Linked DNA regions of Homo sapiens: region 1 is linked to region 2. Evidence: promoter capture Hi-C in human tissues and cell types (Jung and others, 2019). All regions are on one chromosome and are shown on one strand. Each heading gives the region's core, a stretch centred on a gene start or on the middle of the fragment in contact. The rest is flanking DNA. Distances are from core to core; before and after follow the strand shown. Region 1 overlaps CEROX1 (cytoplasmic endogenous regulator of oxidative phosphorylation 1). Region 2 holds the start of TRAF7 (TNF receptor associated factor 7).

Region 1 (6,981 bases), core at 2,008-4,507, 1.2 Mb before region 2:
AGTGGAGATGAGGCTCGGCCACCCCAGGGCTGCCCGGTGCTGGGGGAGAAGACGCTGAGAAGAGGAGGAGAATGGGGAGGAAGGGACGGACACCCCAAGAGCACGCAGGCTGAAGACTGGGCTGCCTCCCCGGAGACCGACCAGCCTGCCCTAGGTGGGACCCTGTCCCCGCCGTCCCGGCCTGCGCCAGCACAGCCCCCAGGACCCAGGCACACACAAGCCCGTGGCTGGCCACGCTCCCAGCAGCTGCGGGCCGGCTTCAGGGAGGAATGAGCCCCTGTCGGCACCTCGTCCAGCTGTCCCCCAGCACCCCGGCCTGGCAGCTCCCGCCTCCTCGGGGCCATTGTCCCTGGCATGCGGTGGCAGCTGTCTCTGGCACCCGCAGGAAGCCAGTGTGGGCCCGAAGATAATCGTGCACCCTTCATTTACCCCAATTTTTCATGTCCTGAAGTCTGGGTATGGAAGGGGGGCCCAGGACCCGTGGATGCTAACATCTGTTGCCTCCTCCTGGAAGGGTGGTCAGTTTGGGCAGATCCTGCTGTGACTGTCCAGCGGCCAACCCCCCCACCCCCCACGTGAGGCTGGCAGGTGCGGGTGGGGGCTGAGAGAGCAGGTGTTGTGCCATTTGCTGGTTGTCCTGGGACGATGACTCACAGACGGCTGTTCTGCTTGGCTCACCCTGTCCTCTCCCTGCACCCTCGGCTACAGGTCACGAGTGTTCCCACCCCTGCACCCCAGAAGGAGATGCGGCTCCATGTGACCCTGCAAGCTGGCAAGCCATGGTTTCTAGACAGTGGAAAGCACAGCTCCCAATGTGGTGGTGTTCTCCGGTTGCAGGGCCCTATGTTAGGAAACGAATGTGTAATTTTTTTTTTTTCTCTAGGAATCATATTCTGCACTGGAAGAAGCCTTGAGAGTTGCCTGGCCCAGAGGTCACAAACCAGAGCCCTGCGGGCTGAGCTCTACCCACAGTGCAGTTATCAGTCACCGTGTAGCGGTCACCGACGGCCACATTAATGCTGCGTAACAAACAGCCTCAGAGCCCACCGTTGTGTGTCGCCAGGCGGTGCTGTCCATGCCCAGGCCCCAAGAAAGGCAGGGGAAAGGCTGAGCTGGGCCTGTGCCCTCTGTCCCTTCCTATGAGCCTCTAGAGCAAAGCTTTGCTGAAGGCTGTTGTCTGAACCAAGGCCACAGAGGAAGCACGCTCCCTGCTCCCACTTTGCCCCTCGTACCCGCCTGAGGGCATCTTAATTAAGCCTTCCTTCCCCACGCTCAGAAAAATAAATACTTGGGAGACAGCAGAGACATTTTCACAGGGTGTGTTTTCATTTGCCTTTGGCACTAATGGGTCTCTGGAACGTTCCATCCTGGCCGGGGAGGTCAGGGCCTGGGCGGCCAGGGCCCATTTCGAGAAAGCAGGTTTTCCTTTGTGGCATGCTTATTTCAAGCACCATTTTCCCTCCTGGTTATACTTGAAATGGGGCTCGGTGTTGGGAGGTTTCAAATGTGGACATTCCGGGCAAGGGGCCTCATGAACTCTGTGGACATTCTGGGCAAGGGGCCTCATGAACTCTGAAGGTTGAGCTTGGAAGGACGGACACAGGTCTTGGCAGCCTGAGTGGGTACAAACGCTGATTTTTCTGGAGTCAGTCCTCTCCTGCTGATGGGCTGAGAGAGCCCCCCAGGCCCTGTGTCCCTTCTCAGAGGACCTCAGCCCCCCAGTGCCTGGGCCACGGATGGGCTGGGGGCTGGGGCCCAGGGCCTCGCATCCTACAAGGGCCCAAGGGCTGAAATGGGGCTGGGGTCCCTGGATCTAGGGGATGAGGGCCCAGAACGAGGCTGGGGTCTGGGGTTCAGTGGAGCAATGACCAGGAATCAGGCTGCGATCTGTAGTCCAGGTGTCTGGCGTCAGACAGCACCCTCCTGTACACGGCACAGCTGTACTGCAGGGTTAGGGACAGGATTTACTGCCACCAACGGAAGCGTTGATTCCAAGTCTCAGACACCGCCCCCAGGCTGGGCCTCCCTCGACGGAAGGTGACGCTCTCTGGGAGGTCCTTGGTGCTCACCTCCCTGGCTGCTTGGGGCCCCAGGGCTCCTGCCTAGGGATGTTTTGGGGCTGCAGAAGGACCCTCTGCCCATTATCAGACGAGAAGTGCAGAGAGCAAATGCGTGCTGTTGGCGCCCCCCACCCCCACACTGAGAGTGGAGACGGATAGGCCCAGCCAGAAGCTTGGGGACCCGCTCCCAGCCTGGAGTGACGGACGCTGAGCAGCAGGAGCACAGCTGTTCCCGACACATCCGTGATCTGGGCGTGCACCTGTCACTGGGGAGAGAGCAGTGCTGGTCTCCACGCTTTGGGCATCGCCTGCTCCCTGAATCCTTTCCACATGCGAACAGCCTGGGCAGGGGTCCCCAGCGGTCAGTAGCTACTCCCGCCAGCGCGGGTTCACGGATCAGGAGGCTCCCAGTGTGTCAGGGGAGTGCGAGGTGAAGATGGGGAGGGCTGGGCTGGAAATGCTCGTCCTCCGTGGAGGTCGGGGGCATCAGGAGGACCAGGAGGACGTCTGGGCTGCAGGCAGACGTAAGCTGCAGCAGGGCCAGCTCTGGCTACAGAGGCCCAGAAAGCACTGCTCCTGCAAGGTGCCAAGAAAGACTCACTGAGTGGTTTTCCACTGCCCTGTGAGCGCCAGGAAGCTTAAGGCACAGACAAGGCCAGTTCTCAGGCAGACGCCACCCCAGCCAACAGGCCAGCCTTGACCCAAACCGGAACTCGTGCCCCAGCTGGCACTGCCAGCACCCGAGACAGTGAAGTACAGGGAGCTGCAACCCAGCCCAGAGCTCCAAGTGTGCGTGGCCAAGAAGCTGACTCCCGAAGGGGGTCTTGAGAGGGGTCCTGCGAACCCCTCCTCTCCCCTGGAGACCCGTCCGGGGGCGGGGCCTTTCCCAGCCTCTGCTCACAGCCTGCGCCGGCCCAGCCTGTAGTCACTCTGTCTCTGCCAGACCAGCCGTCATTAAAAGCACCAATTAATCTCCCAGGCCGTGCCAGGACGCTGCCAACTGCCCCACGGGTGCTCGGGATGCAGGGGCTGGGAGGCCCGGGCCAAGGCTGTGCACACACCGGCTGCCAGCGGGTTCACGCCCGCCGGGCCCTCCCTGTGCTTCTCAGAGGCCGCACAAAAGATGGGCTGCCTGCCGCAGGAGGAGGGCCGGGTTGGGGGTGGATGGAGGGGGACGGGGAGGACGGGCAGGGAGGGACGGAGGGGCACAGGGAAGGACGGAGAGGGAGGGACAGGGGCCTCTCCAGGGTGGCATTTCCCTGGGCAGCCCTGCTTCCTCCTCGTGCCCTGGGCCCAACACACACCACACACACACACACACCATACACATGCACACCACACATCACAAACACACCCACACCCTGCACACATACACCACACACTAAACACACACACCACACACATACCACACACATACATCATACACACGCACACACACCACACACCATACACACACCCCACCACACACATACACGCACACACACACACCACACACACACATCATACACACGCACACCACACATCACACACACACAAACACACCCACACCCTGCACACATACACCACACCAAACACACACGGACACACACACACCACACACCATACACACACCACACCACACACATACATCATACACACACACACACACCACACACCATACACGCACCCCACACACATACATCACACACATCATACACATACACACCACACACCATACACACCATACGCACTATACACGCACCATACACACTATACACGCACCACACACACCATAAACACACCCCATACATACATCCCATACACATATCACACATTACATACCATACAAACACACACCACACACACACATGAACACACGCGCCTCCGGGGTCGCCATCCCTAGGAGCCACGGGTAGGGTGGGGTGGTCTCTCATCTGGAAGCATCCCCCAGGCCATCCCTGCACCATCTCATGGGCAGCAGAGCCTGTCCACCCACATTCTTCTCTGCGGCTGTCCTTGGCGCCCAGGCCAGGGCATGTGGAGCTACAAATGTCATCTACACCAGCTCTCCACGCCCGGCACTCACGGCCCAGGGGACAGCCCTGGTCCAGATTCCCCCATCAGGGTATACTTGAAACGTACACTCCCCCTGAAACTGCAAGGCCCACTAGCAGGTGGTGAGGTCAGGGTGGGTGGGGCCATGCAGACACGGCGGAGCAGGCCCCAGCTGAAGGGGTGGGGCAGGGATGGGAGACAGGGGAGGAGGGTGTGTGTGCAGCTCCCCCCTGGATGAAGACATGGGCCCATCAGGTGGACTCAGAGGTGGCTCTGATGGCTGCCCCTCCACTCTCCACCCCCGGGTCCATCTCTTGTCATCAGACACTCTGCTCTAGCTTCCCCAGGGAACACGCTGGCCTCTCCCTGCAGGAGATCAGAAGCTTCAGGGCTCAGCTTAAATGACACCAAAGATGCTTTCCCAGACCATCCTTCCTGAAGTCCCCGCCTCTGAGAGGTGCTTTTGGAGTTACCTGCTGCCTGCCTCCCTCCACAAGGCCAGCGTCTGCAGGGCAGGAGCTGTGAGGGTGGCCCGGCTCCATCCTGTGTGGGAAAGTGCCTGGCACACAGCAAGTGCTTAATTAATACCTGGTGACCCTCAAGCCATCCCGACACCTCCCTCTCTGAAAGCTCCGTCCCGGCGTCCTCTCAGGCCTAGTGGCTCACACCCGCGGAGGACGAGGTCATTTTCCTGGGGACTTCAAGGTGGACCAGAGATGACTCTGGAAGGGGGGTTTGTGGGCACCACTCTGCATGGGGATCCTCACCCACATACCGCCCTCCCGGGAGTGCACCAACACGTCCTCAGCTGACTGGCCTAGGCCCCCACCACCCCGCCACAGAGACTCCCCACCTCCCCACCCCTCCTGTGGCAGCCTGCACGCCCAGCACCTCCCCTGGTGATCACTGCAACCTGGGGAAAGGAGCAGGCGCTGTTGGAGCCTGAGGCAGGGTCTCAGTTGCACAGACCACCGTGCCCCAGAGTCAGGGCCTGGATGCCACTCCCCAACCTCAGTCTCCCTTCCTCCAGGGGTGCTGGAGTTCCCCACCTGTGTCCCAGGGACTTGAAGCTTCCTTGGTGGATGGGGAGCCAGGAAGAGGCCACCCTGCCTGCTCGCAGACCTAATGCAACTGCTTTTCTTTGGCAAAGAGAGCTCTCCACGGAGGTCCTCACCCGGATGGCACTGTGAGCCCGAGTGGGCGATGTCTGCTCTCCCAGGGGCAGGGGGTGGAAGGTGGCACAGTTTGGACCGGACCCCCACCCTCACTGCTTCCACTTAAACCCCCACTTCTGCCTGCCTGCATCCCAGGCCTAACAGATGAGTTCCGCGGGCGCCCCAGGCGATGCTCTGAGGGCCACGGAAGGATGCGGGGACCCCGAGCGGAGGGCAGGGCCTCCAGGGGGAAGAGGCACTGCAGACGGAGGTGTGGGTCTTCCCAGGCAGGTGCCGGAGCCAAGCGAGATGGTGGGACGGGGAAGAGAGGGCAGGCCAGGCTGGCAGCCAGCTCTCCACCTACGATGCGTGGAGCCTCCCAACTCGCGCACTCCGTCTCCCCACCGCTGCTTCCTCTGACCTGGCTGCAGAGATGAGACCGCCCTCCGGGCAGGTGACACGGCCCTTGCTCTTCAGCCTGGAGGCCAATGCTTCCTCCAAAGGCCCTGGCCCCCTCAGCTCCGGGCCTGGCTCCGGTTGTTCCCAATGCAAAGCAGCAAGGGCCCCGGGGTCTGCGGACGGGGGCGGGCGGCCGCTGGGGGCACCAGCTCTCGGCCGGGCCAGAACAGGGGGTAGGAGGCGCGTCCTGTGCGGTCGGTGGCGGCCCCAGGTGGGTGCGGTGCGCTGGCAGGAAGCGGCAGCACGACCCCCGACTTTGCATCTGGACTTTTCTAGTAACGGACCAGCTCCTTCTGCCGACCGGGCCGGGGAGACCGCGTGGCTCAGTGGCTGCAGCGGCCACCGGCCCGGGCGTGGGGGCTTTGAGGGCACCGGCGCGGTAGGTCACCCGGGTTTCGCGGGCCGCAAGCTCGGAGACGCGCGTGTCCCGCGTTGGCTGCCTGACCCGGAATGGCGCAGCCCCTTCGCCTCCAGCGCGCTGGTTGAAAGGATCCGAGCCACCCTCGGGGACGGCCGGGCCGAGGCCACCTCGCGGGGCGGCCTTGGGCGGGGACCCGGACCCGCGGTTGGACGTTCGCCTCGGGGGGGGCAATGTCCCCTCTCCGACCCCGCGGTCCCCACCAGGGCGGCACACCCCGCCCTCTCCCCGCCTCCGCAGGCGCCCAGGGCTCACAGGCTCGGAGCGGCCTCCGCCTCTGCCGGACCACCCAGGGCCGCCCCGCCGGAGGGGCCTCCCCGCCCCCGAGCCCTAGGTCACGCCCGGAAGGCCCGGGGCCCCCGCGTCCGGCCACGCCATCCGCCCGGCGGCCCCAGGGACTCAGCGCCGGGGTCAGCGCAGGCCCCGCCCAGCGCTCCCGCCCCCTCCAGCTGGCCGGCCCCCGGGACCGCGCCCCCGCCCGCGCTCTCCACGCTCGCACTCGTATGGGCAGGGCGGCCCGGGGTCCCCCAGCTCCGAGCCGCGGCCCCTTGAAGCGCGTTACCTGGACGTGCGCTGTCCGCAGACTCTGGACGAGCTGGGCCTGGGCGCTGCGCGGCGGAACCGACCCTGTCCTGGACCGCAGGCAGCAGCTGACCCCGCGCCACCGGCCTGCGGGCGAGACCTCAGGCGCGAGACGGGCTGTGTGTGTGTGTGTGTGTGTGAGAGAGAGAGAGAGAGAGAGAGAGAGAGAGAGAGAGAGAGAGAGTGTGTGTGTGTGTGTGTGTGTGTGTGTGTGTGTGTGTGTGTGTCGGGGGAGGGGCCCGAGGACCCGCTTCCTAGCTGAGCGTCAGGACGG
Region 2 (6,458 bases), core at 2,970-5,469:
TTTCAGAACAAAGTTCTGGACGTGGATGGTGTGAAGGTGAAGCTGCAGGTAAGGTGACTGGCAGAGGACAAGTTGGGGGACAGGGGACACCAGGGAAGGGCTGGACAGCCTGACCAGTGCCTGTCGCTGCAGATGTGGGACACAGCTGGTCAGGAGCGGTTCCGCAGTGTTACCCATGCCTACTACCGGGATGCTCATGGTGAGCCCCTGGGTACCTGGGCTGGTTGGGGCGGGGGTCTGAGCACCTGAGGGTGCAGGTGATGGTGGATGTCCTCACTGCCCTCTGTCCCCAGCTCTGCTGCTGCTCTACGATGTCACCAACAAGGCCTCCTTTGACAACATCCAGGTCAGTGGCTTTCCTGGTGGGGTGAAAGGGCCCTGATAGGGCCTGACCCATCCCAACCTCCTTCTGGTAGATGGCATCAGGGTTCCAAAGGACCCCGCTGAGAGAGGGGAGGGGGAAATGACAGCCTTCTGGGCTGGAGGTGGCCCAAGTGGACCTGAGTGCCATTCCAGCTCCCTCAGCAGGAGGCTTTGTGTAAGGGACCTGTAAGGTGGGCTTCTGTATGTGGTACACGGGGGGTTATCACTTCTAAAGACAGGTATCCTGGCCAGGCATGGCGGCTCACCTGAGGTCAGGAGTTCGAGACCAGCCTGGCCAACATGAGGAAACCCCATCTCTACTAAAAATACAAAAATTAGCCGGGCGTTTTGGCACACACCTGTAATCCCAGCTACTCAGGAGACTGAGGTTGCAGTGAGCCAAGACTGTGCTACGGCACTCCAGCCTGGACAACAGAGCAAAACTGTCTCAAAAAAATAAAATGGGCTGGGCATGGTGGCTCACACCTGTAATCCCACCACCTTGGGAGGCTGAGGTGGGCGGATCACGAGGTCAGGAGTTGGAGACCAGCCTGATCAACATGGTGAAACCCCGTCTCTACTAAAGATACAAAAAATTAGCTGGGCGTGGTGGTGCGTAACTGTAATCCCAGTCACTTGGGAGGCTGAACCCTCCCAAGGTTCTCTGAACCCCAGGAGAATAGCTTGAACCCAGGAGATGGAGACTGCAGTGAGTCGAGATGGAGCCATTGCACTCCAGCCTGGGAAACAGGGCGAGACTCTTGTCTCAAAAAAAAAAAAAAAAAAAAAAAGATAAAGACAGGTGCCCTCTACAGTGTGACCTGGAGGGCCAAAGTTCTGGGGCATGGGGCAAGCCATGCAGGGAGCCCCAGCCTGGTCTGCTGCCTCCCACAGGCCTGGCTGACCGAGATCCACGAGTACGCCCAGCACGACGTGGCGCTCATGCTGCTGGGGAACAAGGTGGGAGGCCCGGCTGTCCTCACCTGGGCCACAGGGCAGGGCAGGTGAGGGGGCAGGGGCCAACCATGGGCCAGCTTTCACCAAGACCCTGTGCCTGGGCCAGGTGGACTCTGCCCATGAGCGTGTGGTGAAGAGGGAGGACGGGGAGAAGCTGGCCAAGGTGAGTCAGGGCAGGGGGGTGGTGAGGGGGTGCCCCTGGAGGCTGCGAGCCTAGGCTGTCCCCGCCAGGCCACCACCTGGCTGGCAGCAGCTGTTTACAGGAGTATGGACTGCCCTTCATGGAGACCAGCGCCAAGACGGGCCTCAACGTGGACTTGGCCTTCACAGCCATAGCAAAGTAAGTCCTGCCAGTCACCAGGACTCCCCCAGCCCAGGGCCTGAATCCTCATTAGAGTCCAGGCCATCGTGTCCCCTTGTCACCCCCACTCCGCAGGGAGTTGAAGCAGCGCTCCATGAAGGCTCCCAGCGAGCCGCGCTTCCGGCTGCATGATTACGTTAAGAGGGAGGGTCGAGGGGCCTCCTGCTGCCGCCCTTGAACCTGGCTGAGCTCAGTCCTCTGGAGGAAGCCGTCCAGTCCCTAGAAGGCTGGACAGAGGGTCTCCAGGCCCTTCTGACTTTGTTGCCCAGTGGCCAACGCCCGAGTGTCTGTTTTCAGGAGCCCCAGGTCAAGCCTTGTCCCTTCCTCCTCCCAGCAACAGTCCCAACAAGCAGGCTTCTGAGAGCCCGTGGCCGCACACTGGCCGCCACGGAAAAGCAGTCTTCTGCACGGGACGGGGAGCGGCAAGTGGACAGACTTTGCCACGGTGCTCTGCTGCCCCCTCCTGGGCACGTCCAGGTGAGGGAGGGCTGGGGCTGGCACCACGCACAGTGCCTAACCCTAGAAAAGCCATGTCTTCAGCCGCACATGCTCAGGCAGCTAAGGGAGGACGCCTGCCCACGCCTGGGACAGAAGGCTTCACTGCTAATCACATCGTGCATCTGTGTGTCCTGGGAGCTGCCTGCTCCCGGCCCACCCTCTAGGAGGCTCTGGCTCAAACAGCAATAGGGTCTTCCTCACTGACCTTGGAGGATGCCTGTGGCCTTGTGATAAAATGTGGGAAATCACAGAAAACACCAGAAACAACAACTGCCAGCCCGGCCTGGCCACAGGTGAGGTCTGTGATTTCCGAGCACGCTCCACCTTGCACTCAACTTGGCCTTTTGATTGCACAAGCCTTTGTTTTCAGTCCTAGTGAATAAAGTTGTGTTTTCTGGAGCGTCTGTCTCATCTGTTGAAAAAAATCCACTTCTAGAGCAGGATGCTGGAGTTTGAGAGACTCAGCAAGGCCCAGAACCCTCAGCAGGTGTGTGGCTACCATTCCTCCATGGCCCATGGCTGCCTCCCTAAGGAGGCACATGGGAACCCTAGGTGGTGTCAACTTCCCTCCACAAATCTCAAAAGCCTTTTTGGACTCACCCTGGGGCAAAAGGCATGAAAAACAGTATTTGACTGGGCGTGGTGGCTCACACCTGTGATCCCAGCACTTTGGGAGGCTGAGGTGGGCAGATCACCTGAGGTCAGGAGTTTGAGACCAGCCTAACACGGAGAAACCCCGTCTCTACTAAAAATACAAAATTAGCCGGGCGTGGTGGTGGGCGCCTGTAATTCCAGCCATTTGGGAGGCTCAGGCAGGAAAATCGCTTGAGGTGGAGGTTGTGCCATCGCACTCCCGCCTGGGAAACGAGCAAAACTCCGTCTCAAAAAAAAAAAAAAAAAATCACGGGCAGAAATGGAGAAGGCAATCCCAAGAGATGAAAAGTCACTGGTAACGAGCTTCCGTTTTCATGTCTGTACCCTTTTCCAAGATTGCCTGTGGATCAGCCAGACCTCTGGGGTGCCAGAATAGGAAAATAAAGACACTTGAGAGAAAACCGAATCAACTCACTACCTTTCTTTATTGCTAAGCACTTCAATAGACACAGCGCCCACCTTACCGCTAGGCCCTCCGGATTGAGGTTTACTTAGGTTCAAAACTTGCAGCCGGCTCGCGACGAAACCTGAAAGTCAGCGCCAAAATACAGACATTAAGTCCCCACTCCTTCGTTTCGGGCAACACCTGTTTCCACTCTCAGCTCCCCGTCAGGAGTGCGCACCCTCAAGCCTCAGTCTTGCTAAATAATCAGACTGCACGTGCAGTTTTCATACGAGGTGTCAGAAGTCAAAGCAATTCATCACAGACTGGGAGAATAAGGGAACCCAAGCCCGGCCCAGTCTTACCTGCAGGTAGCTGAGGGCCTGAGATTCGGGAAGAAACCTTTAAACGCTAAGGGACAAAGTGGTGCGTAGGCCAGGCCTGGACGCCCAGGGACCTGGCCGGCCTGCAGCGTTCGGACGGCCCTCAAAGCCACGCTCGTGGCTCAGTTCGTCCCAAGATCGTAGCACATGGCGAACGTATTAACAAACCTCTTCCCCCTCGGACTCGACCCCGAAAAGACAGGGGCGGGCGAGGCTCAAGCTTTTATAGAAACTGTCCCACCTCTGTCATTGGGCTATCCTGGCGGAAGTGCCCGCCTTCCCCCGCCGCTGGTACGCTCCGCTCCCTGCCGCGTTGTTTCCACCAATCGTACCGTGGCATTTCTTTTGGAGACGGTCTCTCAGACCCAGACCCGAAGCTCCTCCCTTATGCAGAGTCCGTGAAGCCTAACGGTGAGTGACGGATGAACAAAGCCAATCAGACTTCGATCTGCAACATAGAGTGATTCTGAAGCTGCCATTCCCGCCCCGCGACGACGAGGCCGCCGGAAGTCGTAGTTTCGGAAGTGCGGCGCGTGAGGCAGCCGTCCGGGCCCGGAGAGGCGGGGAACTACACGTCCCGGCGGGCGCAGCGGCCTGGCGCTTCCGGCTCGCGCGTCTAGTCCCTTTCCCGGCCGGCGGCCGAGGGGGCATCATGAAGCGGGCTGGCGGCGCTGCCGCTCCCGGGCGGCCGCGGGCGGGTGAGTGTCCCCGCGGCGCGCCCGACCCGGGGCTCGCGCCTCGGGACCGCGCGGTGGGGCGGGATCGGGCGCGTGGAGATCGAGGCGAGGCGAGGCGAGGCGAGGGGTCGGGCCGGGGCGGGGAGGGGGGGGCGGGGCTGAGACGGTCGGGGTCGGGGTCAGGGTCGGGGTCCGCGTCGCTGTCCGTCCGCCAGTCAGTAGTCCGTCCCTCGCTCCGTCCTGTTCTCGCGCAGTTCTTTACTCATTCCTTCTTCCTGCATTCCCCGAGACTCCCGGGTGCCAGGCACTGTTCTGGGCGCCGGGAGACCGCGGAGAACACGGTCCCAGTTCTCCTGTGCTCGGCGTCTGCTGCAGGGTTCCCCAACCTCCGCACCATCGACCACGCGGCCCGGGTCGCTTTTTGCTGCGAGGAGCTGCCCTGTACATTGTAGGATGTGGAACAGCTTGCCTGGCTCCTGGCCGCTAGATACCAGTAAACACCACCCCTTCCTCAATTGCGATAACAAATGTCTCCATGCATTGGCAAATGCCTCCTGCGGAACAACTCCCCCCATCCCCCATCTAGACAGACAGGGTGGTGGGATTGACAATAGGTAGTTAAAATCATGGGGAGCAGCGGTATGTGCTGTGAAAGAAAGAAAGAGGGTGCTGAAAAAGTGAGTACTGGCCGGGGGTAGGGGCGGCGCTACCGTTAGCCAAAGGCCTGTTGGAGAAGCAGCCAGTCCCAGGACATGCAGGAGGAGCATTCCAAGTAGAAAGAGCCAGATGTACATAGGCCTGGGGTGAGAAGGGGCCTGACGCACCCCAGCAAGCACTGGCAAGTGGAGAGGTGAAGTCGATGAGGCCGGACCAGGCTCACAGGGTGCATGGTGGGGTGGGGCGGGGGGGTTATTATGCTGGCAAATGACTTGGGGTTGAGGAAGCGCTGGAGAGGCGGTCCGATCTAGGTCCAGTAAAGAGCTTTCTAACTGTGTGTGGACCACAGACTTCAGAGTTCACTGGGGAAGCAGGAGAGAGGGAGGCTAGGCCATCGTCTCCTAGTCCCCACTGGGGTCCTGCTGTCAAGATACGGTTGTCTTGAGCCAGGCCAGAGTGGTCAGCTGGGGTTGAGTCTGGAGTCCAGGGGCAGGGGCCTGCTGGAGCCCACCCTGCTCTTGGGGGTGAGGGGCTGCTGGCTTGCTCAGGAATTTCATGCCGCCCAGCCTGTCTGCCCACCTTTCTCACTACCCCTCAGACCCCTTCCTGGGCACACACAGGCCCCCTAGCCCTCGCCAAGTGAGGAGCCTCCCTCTTCCTCATTCCTTCTCTTTGGGCCTCTCCCTTCCTAGACCCCTTCCCTGTGCCTCTCTGTTGCGAATATCCTGACTTCACTGTTCTGGGCATTCATAGTTCTCTGTGGAAGCCTCGGGCCCCGTGTCCTGAGGGGGAGCAGTGGTATGGGCAGCCTGGCCTAAGGAGGGGAGGGGCTGGGAGTCAGCACCCCAACCTGACGCCCCAACCTGAGGGTCTCTGGTGAAGTGACTTCCACCGTGGCCCACTGGGGCCAAGTGTTACGATATTTCTGGAAGTGAATGGAAAAGTTCAGGGTCTTTGGCACCCACCGAAAAGTGCCTTTGGCAGATTGAGTGGCGATTGGTGGGGCTCCTGCCCCTCTGTCTGCCTGTGTCCCCCACAAGGCTCCTAGCTCCTCCCGGGTCAGATTCGTGTTCAGCCGTCACACATCCCCACCCTCCCGCATGGGGCCTGGCACCCCGTGGTTGGTGTGACTCTCGGCCAGCTGGTTGGACAAGGAATGAGCAGTTTGGGGAAAGGAGGAAGATGCAGTTGAAGAGCCTCCTGGCCAGGAGGCCTGGGCAGCCTGGCTCTGGGATGCAGCCACTCCCCGGCTTGGCATGGGACTGGCTCAGGCGCTGCCGGGGCTCCTGGATGTGTGGCAGCCGTGGACGAAGCAGAAGGAATGTGACTCTGGTCACAGCGGCACAGCCTGCTGGCTGTGTCCCTGGGCCGGCCTCTCCGCCTTCCTCAGCCTCCATGGTCCACTCAGCAGAGGAGCTGCTGTCTGGGGTGCCTTCACTCTTGACGGATCCATCTTCTCTCGGCTCCTTCCAGACAGGGTTCTGGCTCTATTCCGTTTTTCGAGAAGCCCGAGGCCAGGAGGGCAG

What was found. The method cuts DNA at HindIII sites, captures the fragments that hold promoters and counts their contacts. A contact is called where the count stands out against the background at its distance.
Region 1: a contact is called between a fragment that was not itself captured here and the fragment with the promoter of TRAF7 in region 2, in 1 of the 25 tissues and cell types used here (spleen).

Annotation. Positions count from the first base shown.
Region 1 is chr16:974,458-981,438 of GRCh38, forward strand. CEROX1 (cytoplasmic endogenous regulator of oxidative phosphorylation 1) reads right to left here. Exons shown (of 3, transcript NR_164343.1): 1 at 5,144-6,981; 2 at 4,568-4,653; 3 at 1,304-2,636. It overlaps LOC124903620 (a long non-coding RNA gene), which reads left to right. Exons shown (of 2, transcript XR_007064935.1): 1 at 1-154; 2 at 884-1,301. It also overlaps a transcript of LMF1 not described here. Among named protein-coding and RNA genes, the nearest start is that of CEROX1, 3.7 kb to the right of the region's middle. The HindIII fragment of the contact is 3,125 bases long and covers 1,696-4,820 here.
Region 2 is chr16:2,151,563-2,158,020 of GRCh38, forward strand. It overlaps TRAF7 (TNF receptor associated factor 7), which reads left to right and starts at 4,220. Exons shown (of 21, transcript NM_032271.3): 1 at 4,220-4,296. SNHG19 (small nucleolar RNA host gene 19) reads right to left here and starts at 3,796. Exons shown (of 2, transcript NR_132114.1): 1 at 3,581-3,796; 2 at 3,220-3,360. SNORD60 (small nucleolar RNA, C/D box 60) reads right to left here and starts at 3,543; the gene lies at 3,461-3,543. It overlaps RAB26 (RAB26, member RAS oncogene family), which reads left to right. Exons shown (of 9, transcript NM_014353.5): 3 at 7-48; 4 at 133-199; 5 at 294-346; 6 at 1,258-1,323; 7 at 1,427-1,483; 8 at 1,584-1,660; 9 at 1,757-2,603. The coding sequence ends at 1,859. RefSeq lists enhancers at 3,585-3,784, 4,655-4,754, 4,765-4,904, 4,828-5,409, 5,410-5,993 and 1 more and a silencer at 4,265-4,354. The HindIII fragment of the contact is 10,583 bases long and covers 1-6,458 here.